Linked DNA regions of Homo sapiens: region 1 is linked to region 2. The links are contacts of gene promoters, found by promoter capture Hi-C in blood cells and fetal thymus (Javierre and others, 2016). All regions are on one chromosome and are shown on one strand. Each heading gives the region's core, a stretch centred on a gene start or on the middle of the fragment in contact. The rest is flanking DNA. Distances are from core to core; before and after follow the strand shown. Region 1 overlaps SNX1 (sorting nexin 1). Region 2 holds the start of APH1B (aph-1B gamma-secretase subunit).

Region 1 (6,034 bases), core at 1,375-3,874, 850 kb after region 2:
AACAAAATATCTGAAGATCCTGCTTTTCTGTTTTCTCTGTGTTTGCATTTAGACTTTCTTAACTGCAGGCACTAAATTATGGGATTGACTTCTTGGACATTTGACCATAACTATTCTGCTGTGAATGAAATTTTGAATATTACTTCTATAAAATAAACTTAGATTTCTTTTTTTTTTTTCTTTTATCAGTAGTAAACATCCTTAGTAGTATTGGGTAATGTTAATAAGGTGGTTTAGAAGAGAACTAAAGTTGGTAATCAGTATAAAATAATTTCTAAAGTTTAGCTTATGGTTTCTGTTTTATATACACCCTTTTGGTAGGGGCTGGGGAAGTATAGCAGACAAGCCCTGTATTCCTGTGTAATCTTCAAATTCTTGGTAAATTTTTCAAAAAGCAGGCATTTCCAGCCATCTTACTGAAACCAAGTTGTAATGTGGGAAGCTGCTGATCCAGTACTGCCTGCTCTTCCTTCCCTTGGCCCCTCACCCCTCACCCCAGAACCAGTTCAGGGGCTTAAGCAGCTGGTAACTGTTGACCTAGGTTTTCCGGTTTGATGTGGGAAGGAATCAAGGGTGGGGGAGGCAGGGAACAAAACCAACCCCAAACACCATAGTCCAGCACTGGAGCTGTGTCTGTTTGGATTCCAGAATATGTCTTTTCAGTGCTCAGGATATCAATGGCATCTTTATCTCCTTAAGTGGTCTAGGTCAGGACATCACCACAGAGAAAAACAATAGCTTGAATCCCAAATTATTTAACAGTCAAAGACTTCTTCATAAAAATAATTGCTCCAGGAAAGGGAGATTTGTGTGACATTAGGCAGCCAAAGTGTCTTCCTGCCAGACCCTTTGCTCTTGGTGAACATGCTAGATCAGAGAGGTCAGTGTCCCCCCCGGCACCAATGGAGGGGGTTGTGACGATATTTCTGAAAGAGCAAATCGAGCCCAGAGCTAGCCTAGGGTAGAACTACTTGTTTCCTTTTATATCAGTTGCTTCCTTCTCCTCCTGCTTTATACAGCAAGAGAATTGTTTGGTTTTGGACAGATGTGTGTAACCAGCCCAAATATTGGCATGGTAACAACTGATGGATTGTCAGTATCCAGTGCTGCTTTGTGGAGGGTATAAATGGAGCCTGGCCTGGCTTTGGAACAGAGGGCTGACTCTCTTGTGTAACTCAAACTGGGGCTCAGCCAGCATCCATGGGGGCTTGCTATGTGCCACAGAGGCCCTGAGGCAAAGTAGGAACTGGATTCTAAGATTGCATATAAAGCTTGGAGATGAAACAAGCATCCCTTCTTATCCAGGGTTCCTATGGCTTTTATGATTCCTGGTCAAATGTTAGCTGGATTGGCACTGCTTTGGTTTACAAGATAATCTTCTGCTTTCTTGTTCTCTCACAGGGGATGGTATGAATGCATATGTAGCCTACAAAGTTACAACACAGGTGAGTCCAGGTGACCCTGCTGATGACCATCTTCATAGACTTTGGTGCTTATACCAAGGTCATCATTCAGATTATTTCTGGGTATCTCCTTTGTTTCTTTGCCAACATCTTCATGTTTACTCAAGATAGAGCAAGCCTGCATCCCCTTGGTAATCTCATCTGGGTACTCCAGACTGAGTCTTTTTAATACTCTTCCAGAAAGCTAACATTTCAGTGTGATTCTATTAACTCGTGGTATATCTGATACAGCCCCATCCCTCTTAGAGAACCATGTGGTTTGGAGCTAGATTCACAGATTGCCCTAAACCATCTTTTAAAATCTTCAATGCTTCTGAGGTTTCAGAGAGCTTTTTTAAATACTTAACCTTTTGCCCCTCTAGTCTGCTCTTCTTTTGTATATAATATTAATGCATACAAAATGTATACAATGTTGTATACAAGTTAGGAAGCATAATAAATGAAGCCCTAAACTTACCACTAGTCTTAAAGTTGAGTATCATTGGATCCACCTGCGTGTTTTTCCATCATATCCCCTGCCTCATACCTTAGAGGTGTCCTTTCTCCTGAGTTGTCTCTCATTTCCTTTATAAGAAATCTTTACATATATATATATATATATATATATATATATATGACTGTTTTGCTTTGTTTTGAGTTTCATAAAAATAGTATCATGGGGGCCGGTCACGGTGGCTCACGCCTGTAATTCCAGCACTTTGGGAGGCTGAGACGGGCAGATCACAAGGTCAGGAGATCGAGACCATCCTGGCTAACACAGGGAAACCCTGTCTCTACTAAAAATACAAAAAAATTAGCTGGGCATGGTGGCAGGCACCTGTAGCCCCAGCTGCTGGGGAGGCTGAGGCAGGAGAATGGCGTGAACCCGGGAGGCGGAGCTTGCAGTGAGCCGAGATCGCGCCACTGCACTCCAGCCTGGGCGACAGAGGGAGACTCTGTCTCAAAAAAAAAAAAAAAAAAATAGTATCATGCTGATAATTGTGCTTGCTTTATTTAGCATTGTTTCTCTCACCCATCCTTGATGGTCATGGCTGTAGTTAGTTCATATACCACAAAATATTTATGTTTTCCTGTTGTGAACATTTTCTGCTGTCAACATGTTTCTGGTTTTTGTAACTGGGAACTTTCTTGCACATCTCTAGTACACACGTAGAAGGATTTCTCTAGAGTATGTAACCAGGAGTAATTCCCGTGGGTCATAGGTACTGCAAATATTGGACACAAGGAATACAAACTGTTTTTTAAAGTCTTTGTACCAATTTGTACCCCATCAGCAGTGTATAAAAGTTCCCATTGATTCACTTCCTTGCCAGCAATTGGTGAGGCCAACCTCCTTAAATTTTGCCTATCTGGTGAGTTTAAAGTGAACTCTCATTGTGATGTAGCCCTAACTTTTTTGGTAGAAATCTGCTTTGTATTGTCTCTCTACTACTTGTTGGCCTGCGTCCTGTGAGCTCTAGATTATGATACTTTAGAGGTTACTGTCTACAGCTTAGACATTTCATCCAATTCCCACCCTGCTCATCACCTGCTTCCCCTTCTTAGAAGCACTTTTTGTCTGTCTTTAGTTTGGCTGCTGTAATTCCAGCAGCTAATACCCTTAAATAAGTCAATGAGGCTTGGCGCAGTGGCTCACGCCTGTAATCCCAGCACTTTGGGAGGCTGAGGCAGGTGGATCACCTGAGGTCAGGAGTTCGAGAGCAGCCCGGCCAACATGGTGAAACCCCATCTCTACTAAAAAACTATAAAAATTAGCTGGGCCTGGTGGCAGGAGCCTGTAATCCCAGCCACTCAGGAGGCTGAGACAAGAGAATTGCTTGAACCTGGGAGGTGGAGGTTGCAGTGAGCCAAGATTGCACCACTGCACTCCAGCCTGGGTGACAGAGTGAGACTCCATCTCAAAAAAAAAAAAAAAAAAAAGCAGTGAAGAATGAGCTGGGCATGGTAGCGTGTGCCTGTATTCCTAGCTACTTGGGAGGCTGAGGTGGGAGGATCGCTTAAGCCCAGGAGTTTGAGGCTGCAGTAAGCTGTGATCGCACCAATGCACTCCAGCCTGGGCAACAAAGTGAGATCCTGTCTCCAAAAAAAAATAGTCAATAAAAGATGAATGGGTTACTGGTTACTATAGAATTCTAGCTTTAAACTAGAACTGAACATTTCTTTCTTTAGAACAAGAGTTCTTAACCTGGGAATGAAACTGTATTTGAATTTTTTTTTCTCAAGGGTCACCATGGCTTCAGATGTATTTGAATTTAATTGATTGCCTTTATAATCCTATATATTTTTTGCATTTAAAATCATTATTCTGAGAAGAGCTCCTTAGGCTCCCAGACTGCCAAAGGGGAACTATAGTTTTAAAAAGTTTAAGACTCTCTGCCTTGGAGAAAGTTATTTGCCAGGTGACTGAAGGGCAGGGATCTGGGAAATGGGTTTCTTTAATGTCAATAGGATGACTTTCAAGATACCATCCCCTATTTGGAATGAAATTGCCTTGTGTTTTTTCCTGTCCCCAAGACAAGCTTACCATTGTTCAGAAGCAAACAGTTTGCAGTAAAAAGAAGATTTAGTGACTTTCTGGGTCTTTATGAGAAGCTTTCCGAGAAGCACTCTCAGAATGGCTTCATTGTCCCTCCGCCCCCGGAGAAGAGCCTCATAGGTAAGCCTGTGGTCTTTCATTCCACTTGGATTGTTTTCCTTTGCATTCTCTCCAAAATTCACTCACTGTTCAGTATATGAGACTACTTCTATTAACAGTCTTGTGGTTAGAAAAGAGACATTTCCAGTGTTTTCCTACACTGGAGGTCTAGAGAAAAATAGCATATTTTGGCATGTTCTCCTTGGGTGCAGTAGGAGCTCTGGGTTTAGCCTCCAGAGATGTTCGTTTGTTTTCTGTTGGTCTTCAGGAGTCTTACATGATTGCGGTTGCCTCCAGATTGAAATAGACTACATTGGATTAGGGGTCAGAGGAAGAAACCTCTTCATTTTGTTTGTTTGTTTGGTTGGTTTTTTGGTTTTTGTTTGTTTGTTTGTTTTTGAGGTGGAGTCTCGCTCTGTCACCAGGTTGGAGTGCAGTGGCGCGATCTCAGCTCACTGAAACCTCCACCTTCCGGGTTCAAGAGATTCTCCTGCCTCAGCCTCCCGCTTAGCTGGGACTACAGGTGCCCGCCACCATGCCCAGCTAATTTTTGTATTTTTAGTAGAAACAGGGTTTTACCACGTTGGCCAGGATGGTCTTGATCTCTTGACCTCGTGGTCCGCCCGCCTTGGCCTCCCAAAGTGCTGGGATTACAGGTGTGTGCCACTGCGCCCGGCCAGGAGCCTCTTCATTAACATCAGTTGATGTTTGTACTCAGGGTTCCATGGCCGCCTTTTTAAGAAAATGTTTACTCTGCAAGTCCTAGAGTTTAGAACCTTCAGCACTTAGAGACTAGTTTTCAAAAGTGGCTCTCATGTAAAGAACCTTTTGTTCATCCCTGCATATAACATAGAAGTGGCCTTAGGCTGTGTGCTAGCCTCACTGCCTTTCCTCCTGTTGACACTTAAAAAAAAAAAAGATTTATCCTCTTCATGATGATTTATGGTTATTTTGCTTTTTAAATTCCATTCTAGGGATGACAAAAGTGAAAGTTGGGAAGGAAGATTCTTCTTCTGCAGAATTTCTTGAAAAACGGAGGGCCGCTTTAGAAAGGTAAGTGCCATGCAGCCATTTTCCTGAATAATGTGAGGACAAATGAAAAGCTGAAAAGTGAGTCTAAATGACGAGACAGTCCATTGAGTTAGAGATGAAACGTGAATAAATTGAAGTTGCACACCTCCATATTATCTCTTAACTTTTCCTGAGTCGCTTATTTTCCCACCTTGAGAATAGACCATCTTCTGTTTTTTCCCCATCCTGAGTGAGCAGGCAGTCATATTCTTAGACAATCAATCAAATATGAATGGCTCTGAGGTTTCTTTCTGACCAGTTATTTTTCCCTCCCTTTTTGGAAATGTCAGGAATGTGAACTTGAATATGCTTACAAGGAGAGACCTACTTAAGTACCTTATCTTAGGGTACTTTAAGTACAAAAAGTACAGAAGACATGGTATCACTGCCAGCACTGTGTGACGCCCAGAACCTTCTGAGGCCAGCTCAACTAACCAGATGATAACTGCTTACCTTTTAGGTACCTTCAGAGGATTGTAAATCATCCTACCATGTTACAGGACCCTGACGTCAGAGAGTTCTTGGAAAAAGAAGAGGTTAGTATTCAGTGCAAACTGAATTTCATAATTTATATCTGCCCCTAGTGAAACGAAACTAGTTCATTCCAAAAATATGTGAGCACTTAACATGCCTAGTACTAGACTGTATCCTAGTTTTGTGTGAACCCCTGAGAGTGACAAGTATTTTTCAGCCTTTGAAATAAAAGAAGCTCTGCCCGAAGTCAAAAGCAGTTGGTTGTAAGGGTCAAATAGCAGCCTAGTATTGTCTTACTGGATCAACACAGTGATCTATTTGGCAGGTCCTTGGCATGTTGTAGGTTACTTCTTGGCTCAGATTGAATGTATATTTTATGCCAGGCGGGTCA
Region 2 (5,584 bases), core at 2,971-5,470:
TTGGTGTTCCGTTATTAGTTCCAGGGATATATGAGAATGCACCATAGCAAATAAAATAAATAAATAATAAATTAAAATAAATAAATATACATTCGCCTAAGGTGAAAGTAGTTGGGTGATGACATGAAAGAAAAACAGAAATTGCTGTGGTTAAGAATAGCAACTGCTAAATACATGAAATGAGTTTTTGTTCCTTATGAGTAAATATTGCAATGAAATTTTAGGGAAATATTTCAAATAGGTAGTCACATTAGTCAATAAATTATCAAAATGTCTCAGGCTTCAACTGAGGCAGCTGGATCTAGCAAAAAGAGGCCTGAACTAGAAATCAAGACTTCCAGGTTCCAAGTGGGTTCTGCTGCTCAGTAATGGAGTATTTTCTAGGCTTGTTGTATCCTCTGTTTGCTTTTAAAAAAAATTATATTGGATAATCTCTATGTCCTTTCCTAGCTCTAAAATTCTAAGAAAACACTGGTAATTTCTCTAACATAGATCATTTGATACTCTACCATCATTGCAATTTTCTCTCTGATATCTCAATGAAGGTATTTAGTTTTATGGTTTATAAATTTGGAATATAAATTAAATCAACTTGGCATTATAAACATGGACACTTAGTATAAACTAGGTAGTAATTCTTTATCTGATTTCTTATGACCAATATTTGCCCTCGTTTTTGTTTCTTAAGGTTTCTTCCTCTTGCATTGCCCTTATTTATTTACTTATTTACTTTTGAGTTGGAGTCTCGCTCTGTCACCCAGGCTGGAGTGCAGTGGCATGATCTTGGCTCACTGCAACCTCTGCCTCCCGGGTTCAAGCAATTCTAGTGCCTTCGCCTCCTGAGTAGCTGGGACTACAGGTGTATGCCACCACGCCCAGTTAATTTTTGCATTTTTAGTAGAGATGGGGTTTCACCATATTGGCTAGACTGGTCTCAAACTCCTGACCTCAAGTGATCTGCCCACCTCAGCCTCCCAAAGTGCTGGGATTACAGGCGTGAGCCACTGTACCCAGCCACTTCCTCTTGCATTGCCTTTAAAAAAATTTACTTGTGAATATTGTGTGCAAGCTGAAGTTGAAAAAACTCTAAGAGAATGTAGTTAAGACTCTCATCTTGTACCATCAACAAAACCAGTGCTGCTTGAAAGCTGGGTCCTAGGGTTGACTCTTATAGGGCTGGTAACTTCACTCCGACCTTCAGCATCACAGCAGGATCGAAATTGCATCACTCGTTACCAAGGAAACTGGGTGGGTACTCTGAGGATCCCTCCATTTCCTGTCTTCCTTCAGCTGGTGTCCTGTCTCCTCTCCTCTAAAGCTAAATTTCTCCATTTTTTCCTCTTTCCTTTTTTTTCTTACCACACATTAATGTGAGAAGATTTTACAGACTGCCTTTTACCCCTATGTCTGGGTCACTGATGACCTCTGTATGGCTAAATCCAGTGGACATAATTCACTGGTAGCTTTTGTTGTTGTTGTTGTTGTTTTGTTTTTTGTTTGTTTTGAGATGGAGGAGTCTCACTCTGTGGCCCAGGCTGGAGTACAGTGGCGCAGTCTTGGCTCACTGCAACCTCTGCCTCCCAGGTTCAAGTGATTCTTCTGTCTCAGCCTCCTGAGTAGCTGGGATTACAGGTGTCTGCCACCACGCCCAGCTAATTTTTGTATTTTTAGTAGAGGCAGGGTTTCACCATGTTGGCCAGGCTGGTCTCAAACTCCTGACCTCAAGTGATCCGCCTGCCTCAGCCTCCCAAAGTGCTGGGATTACAGGCGTGAGCCACTGTGCATGGCTACTTAACCTCTCGACAGCCCTTCTTTCTGAAATGTTTTCCCCTTGGCTTCCACAGCACCACATTCCCCCAGTTTTCTTGTTACCCTCTTGGCCACTCCTTTTCAGTTTCTTATGAGGTTCCTCTTCTCCTCATACCTTTAATGTTGGTGTTCTGACATAGGCCTTGTTCTGGCTTTACTAGCTATCTAGGTAATTCTATTCTATATACTCTCACGGCTTCAGGTATTCTGGTCTCAGCTCTGATGTTCAGTCCATTTCTCTCCTGATCCTGTATATGTAGTTGCCTACTGAACACCTCCATTTGGAGTGCTACAAGTATCTCAGTCTCAAGGCATCCAAAATGAAGGCCAGGCACGGTGGCTCATGCCTGTAATCCCAGCACTTTGGGAGGCCGAGGTGGGCAAGTCACTTGAGGCCAGGAGTTCGAGACTGGCCTGGCCAACATTGTTCACACTGTCTCTACTAAAATACGAAAATAACCCAGGCATGGTGGCGCGTGCCTATAGTCCCAGCTACTCTGGAGGCTGAGGCAGGATAATTGCTTGAACTCGGGAGGCAGAGGTTGCAGTGAGCTGAGATCACACCACTGCACTCCAGCCTGGGCGACAGAGTGAGACTATGTCTCCAAAACAGTAACAACAAAATAACAAAATGGTACTCATTATCGTGTCTACTTTGCCATATTCTCTCCTCCTCCTGTCTCCACAGCATCCACTTAAGCCCGAACCCTCTAGAAGCCCTCATCCTTGACTCTTCCCCCATCTCACTCTATGTAGCTCATTAGTCACTAAATTCTGTTTGTACAATTCCTAAACTTCTATTAAATTTGTCTGCTTCCCTCCAGAGTCCTGCTAATTCCCTGAATCAGGCCACTGCCATCTCATGCCTGCGTTGCACTGAGGACCTCCAGTCTGGAAGCTCATTTTCCATATCTTTACAAAGCAGATCTATCACTCTGAACTGTTGTCTCGACCCGAGTTTTGATAGGTATTGTGCTGGGATCTGACCATTCAAAATACAATCACTGGAATCTGAAGAAGTATTCTGTGGGAGTGAATGGAAATATATATGACTTTTAAATGGGCAAAGGTAATGTTTTTCTGTAAGAATTAAATACCTGCAGTTGTATTATTTGAAGGTGCATTTTCAGGGGCGAGCTGCAAAACATCTGTCAGGTCCCAACATTTGTCTACTGGTGTTTTTTTAAATGTGGATTGCCAAAATCTTTATTCATGATGGACATTATGTAGGAGTGGTTAATACTTACATAGCACTTACCTGTGTCAGGCACACTGATCAAAATAACCGACGAAGTATTATTCAACATAAAGAAAAATCTAACTTGGATGTGAATGATCAGAGAACTTAAGTTTTAATTTTTAAACCTTTCAGAAATTGTTAATATAGATGTTTATAACTTCCACCTTTTAAATTATTTCACTTATTGAACAGATATTAGTGAACTTCTAGGTGCTGAGGAAACAACAAAGAGCAAAGCAAAGTCCCTGTCCCCCAGGAGTTCGCGTTTTAACGGGGAAGAAAAATAAGCAAGTGAAATGGACGACTGTGAGAAGACGGAGCAGGGAGATGTTACTATTGCTTGTAGGGTGGTCACAGAATGCCTGCAAAAACAACCCTTTTGAAGAATTGGGAAAAAAATAAAAACCATTTGGCTGAAACAGCCCTGAGAAGGGCAGCTTCTTCCACCACTCTTTCATCATTTTACCATCTGTGGGTTATCCCCGGGGTCACTGCTATCCCAGCCTAGGTTTTATACAGGATGGAGTACGAAGTTCCCGCAACTATCCAAACGGTAAAATGTGCTTAAAAAAAAAAAAAAACCTATTTAAAAAGGAATCCTGCTTGTTCCTGCGCTACATTTTTGTTTAGTCTCTTTGGTTGACTTGGAATCTCTGCCTGTTCTCGGTGCATGCGGCTCGAAGGTGGGCTAGGGAGCTTCCCTTCTCTTAACCACCTCGCGGCCGGCACTGGAACCCGATCGGAGTGTATCTGTGGGGCTGCGGCGATGGCTGGGGCCCTAACGTCGCCGAGGACGCCCGCCTCGGGAGCAGGAGCTGCGGCGTGGCCCTGGCGCTTCCGGACACCCGGTAGGGCGGAGGGCCCAACGGTGGGGTCCGCGCTCACCGCCTTGAGCCCGCCCCTGCGCCCGGCGCCCTCAGCCCACGCCCCGCCCAGTCCCCCAGGCCCTAGCGTTTACCCCCACGCCCCGCCTCGCCCCGCGACCCACGTACCCCGCCTCCGAGCCCCGCCCCCGCCCCCACGTGCCCCGCCCCCGAGCCCCGCCCCCGTCCCCGTGCCTGCCCATGAGCCGCGCCCCGCCCCCCGCGTCCCGCTTAGCCCCCCACCCCGAGCCCCACCCACCGAACCCCGCCCGCGCCGGGAGCATCTCGCGTCCCCAACGGGCCCCCGGGTCGGTTTCCGCGGTGGCCATGACTGCGGCCGTGTTCTTCGGCTGCGCCTTCATTGCCTTCGGGCCTGCGCTCGCCCTTTATGTCTTCACCATCGCCACCGAGCCGTTGCGTATCATCTTCCTCATCGCCGGGTGAGGCGGTCGCGTCGGGAAACCCGGACGCCGGGGCTCCCCTCCCCCGCTGGGGTTACCCGCGACCCTCGGCGCCCCCACCGCGCGGCTCGACCTTGTTGCGTTTCAGACGGGAGGAGGGTTGAGAGGGGGAGAGCGGAGATCCGGCTCCCCAAAGGCGCCTCGCCCTCTTAGGAAGAAGCGCACACTGGGGGTCAGGGCCTTTTGCCTGGGGCTCATGGGTGGGGTTTAGTGATCCGTGAAGCTACTAAAGTTGTATAAAAAAATTATGGATAAGTTCATATATGCATCCTTCATTTTCTGGAGGGGGAGTCCCTAATTTCCCTCAGATTCTCAAAGGCATGTGTAATCCCCAAAGGGTTAAAAACCATTGGCGTTTAGGATAGTAGTGCGCGACTTCCGCCTATTAGAATCACCTGTGGCCAGGTGCTTTAAAACATGCCGATGCCCACCCCCACCCCGATCCATTGAATCAGAATGTCTAGGGGATGGGATTCGGGCTTCAGAAAAAAAAAAAAAAATTTAAGCTCCTTTTGGATGGTTCCGTTGTGCAGCCGAAGGGTGGAAACCTGTAAAAACACCGAAGCACCTGACTGTGCGTCTCCTTCTGGGAGCTTGGTAAATACCGGACTCTGGTGTCCCATCGCAGTCATCACCTGCCTCTTACTTGCACATACCACATCCCCCCTCCTCTGATGAGTCTCTCTTGGCACCAGACTAGGCCAATGATTCCCGCTTTTCTGCGTTTCTTCACCTCCCACAAACGTATTGAAAGTGCTTCGCTGCATGTCATTTTAAAAATAATAGAGATTTGGGAAGGGTCTGTAAAGCTTGCTATAATCATTAGAATCCCCAGGGGTGCTGTAAGACCTGGAGGGCTTGGATACTGATCCAGATCAGAACACAGGTTTTCAAGTTGAATTTTATACCAGTCACTTTATTAATAGAGATGTAGATATTTTTCTGGAAAAGATACTCATCTTTGCAGATATCTGATCAGTAAATCCATAATTTCTTGTAAGTTTTAAGAATATGAAAATTGCAGTAATCAGGGTTGTGTATTTTCTTGTTTTGGCTCATCAATGGGCAGAGCATTGATTAGAAAGAGTAGCAAATAACCAAGTTTCTAGCTAGATAGTCCTTGGCAGATAGAGTCTGCAGATGTACTTGCAAGTAGCAGGGTCATTGAAAAAAGTAATTGTTGGGAAACCTCAGCCTTCCTCTTGGACACG

Evidence for each region. The method cuts DNA at HindIII sites, captures the fragments that hold promoters and counts their contacts. A CHiCAGO score of 5 or more calls a contact.
Region 1: a contact is called between a fragment that was not itself captured here and the fragment with the promoter of APH1B in region 2, in 1 of 17 cell types (naive B cells). The highest score is 5.0, in naive B cells.

Annotation. Positions count from the first base shown.
Region 1 is chr15:64,122,102-64,128,135 of GRCh38, forward strand. SNX1 (sorting nexin 1) reads left to right here. Exons shown (of 15, transcript NM_003099.5): 5 at 1,402-1,445; 6 at 3,978-4,119; 7 at 5,073-5,151; 8 at 5,630-5,705. Among named protein-coding and RNA genes, the nearest start is that of SNX22, 27 kb to the right of the region's middle. The HindIII fragment of the contact is 2,711 bases long and covers 1,270-3,980 here.
Region 2 is chr15:63,273,385-63,278,968 of GRCh38, forward strand. APH1B (aph-1B gamma-secretase subunit) reads left to right here and starts at 4,221. Exons shown (of 6, transcript NM_031301.4): 1 at 4,221-4,352. The coding sequence starts at 4,240. LOC124903504 (a long non-coding RNA gene) reads left to right here and starts at 1,722. Exons shown (of 2, transcript XR_007064674.1): 1 at 1,722-1,978; 2 at 2,634-3,468. RefSeq lists silencers at 3,748-4,167, 4,248-4,527. The HindIII fragment of the contact is 9,433 bases long and covers 1-5,180 here.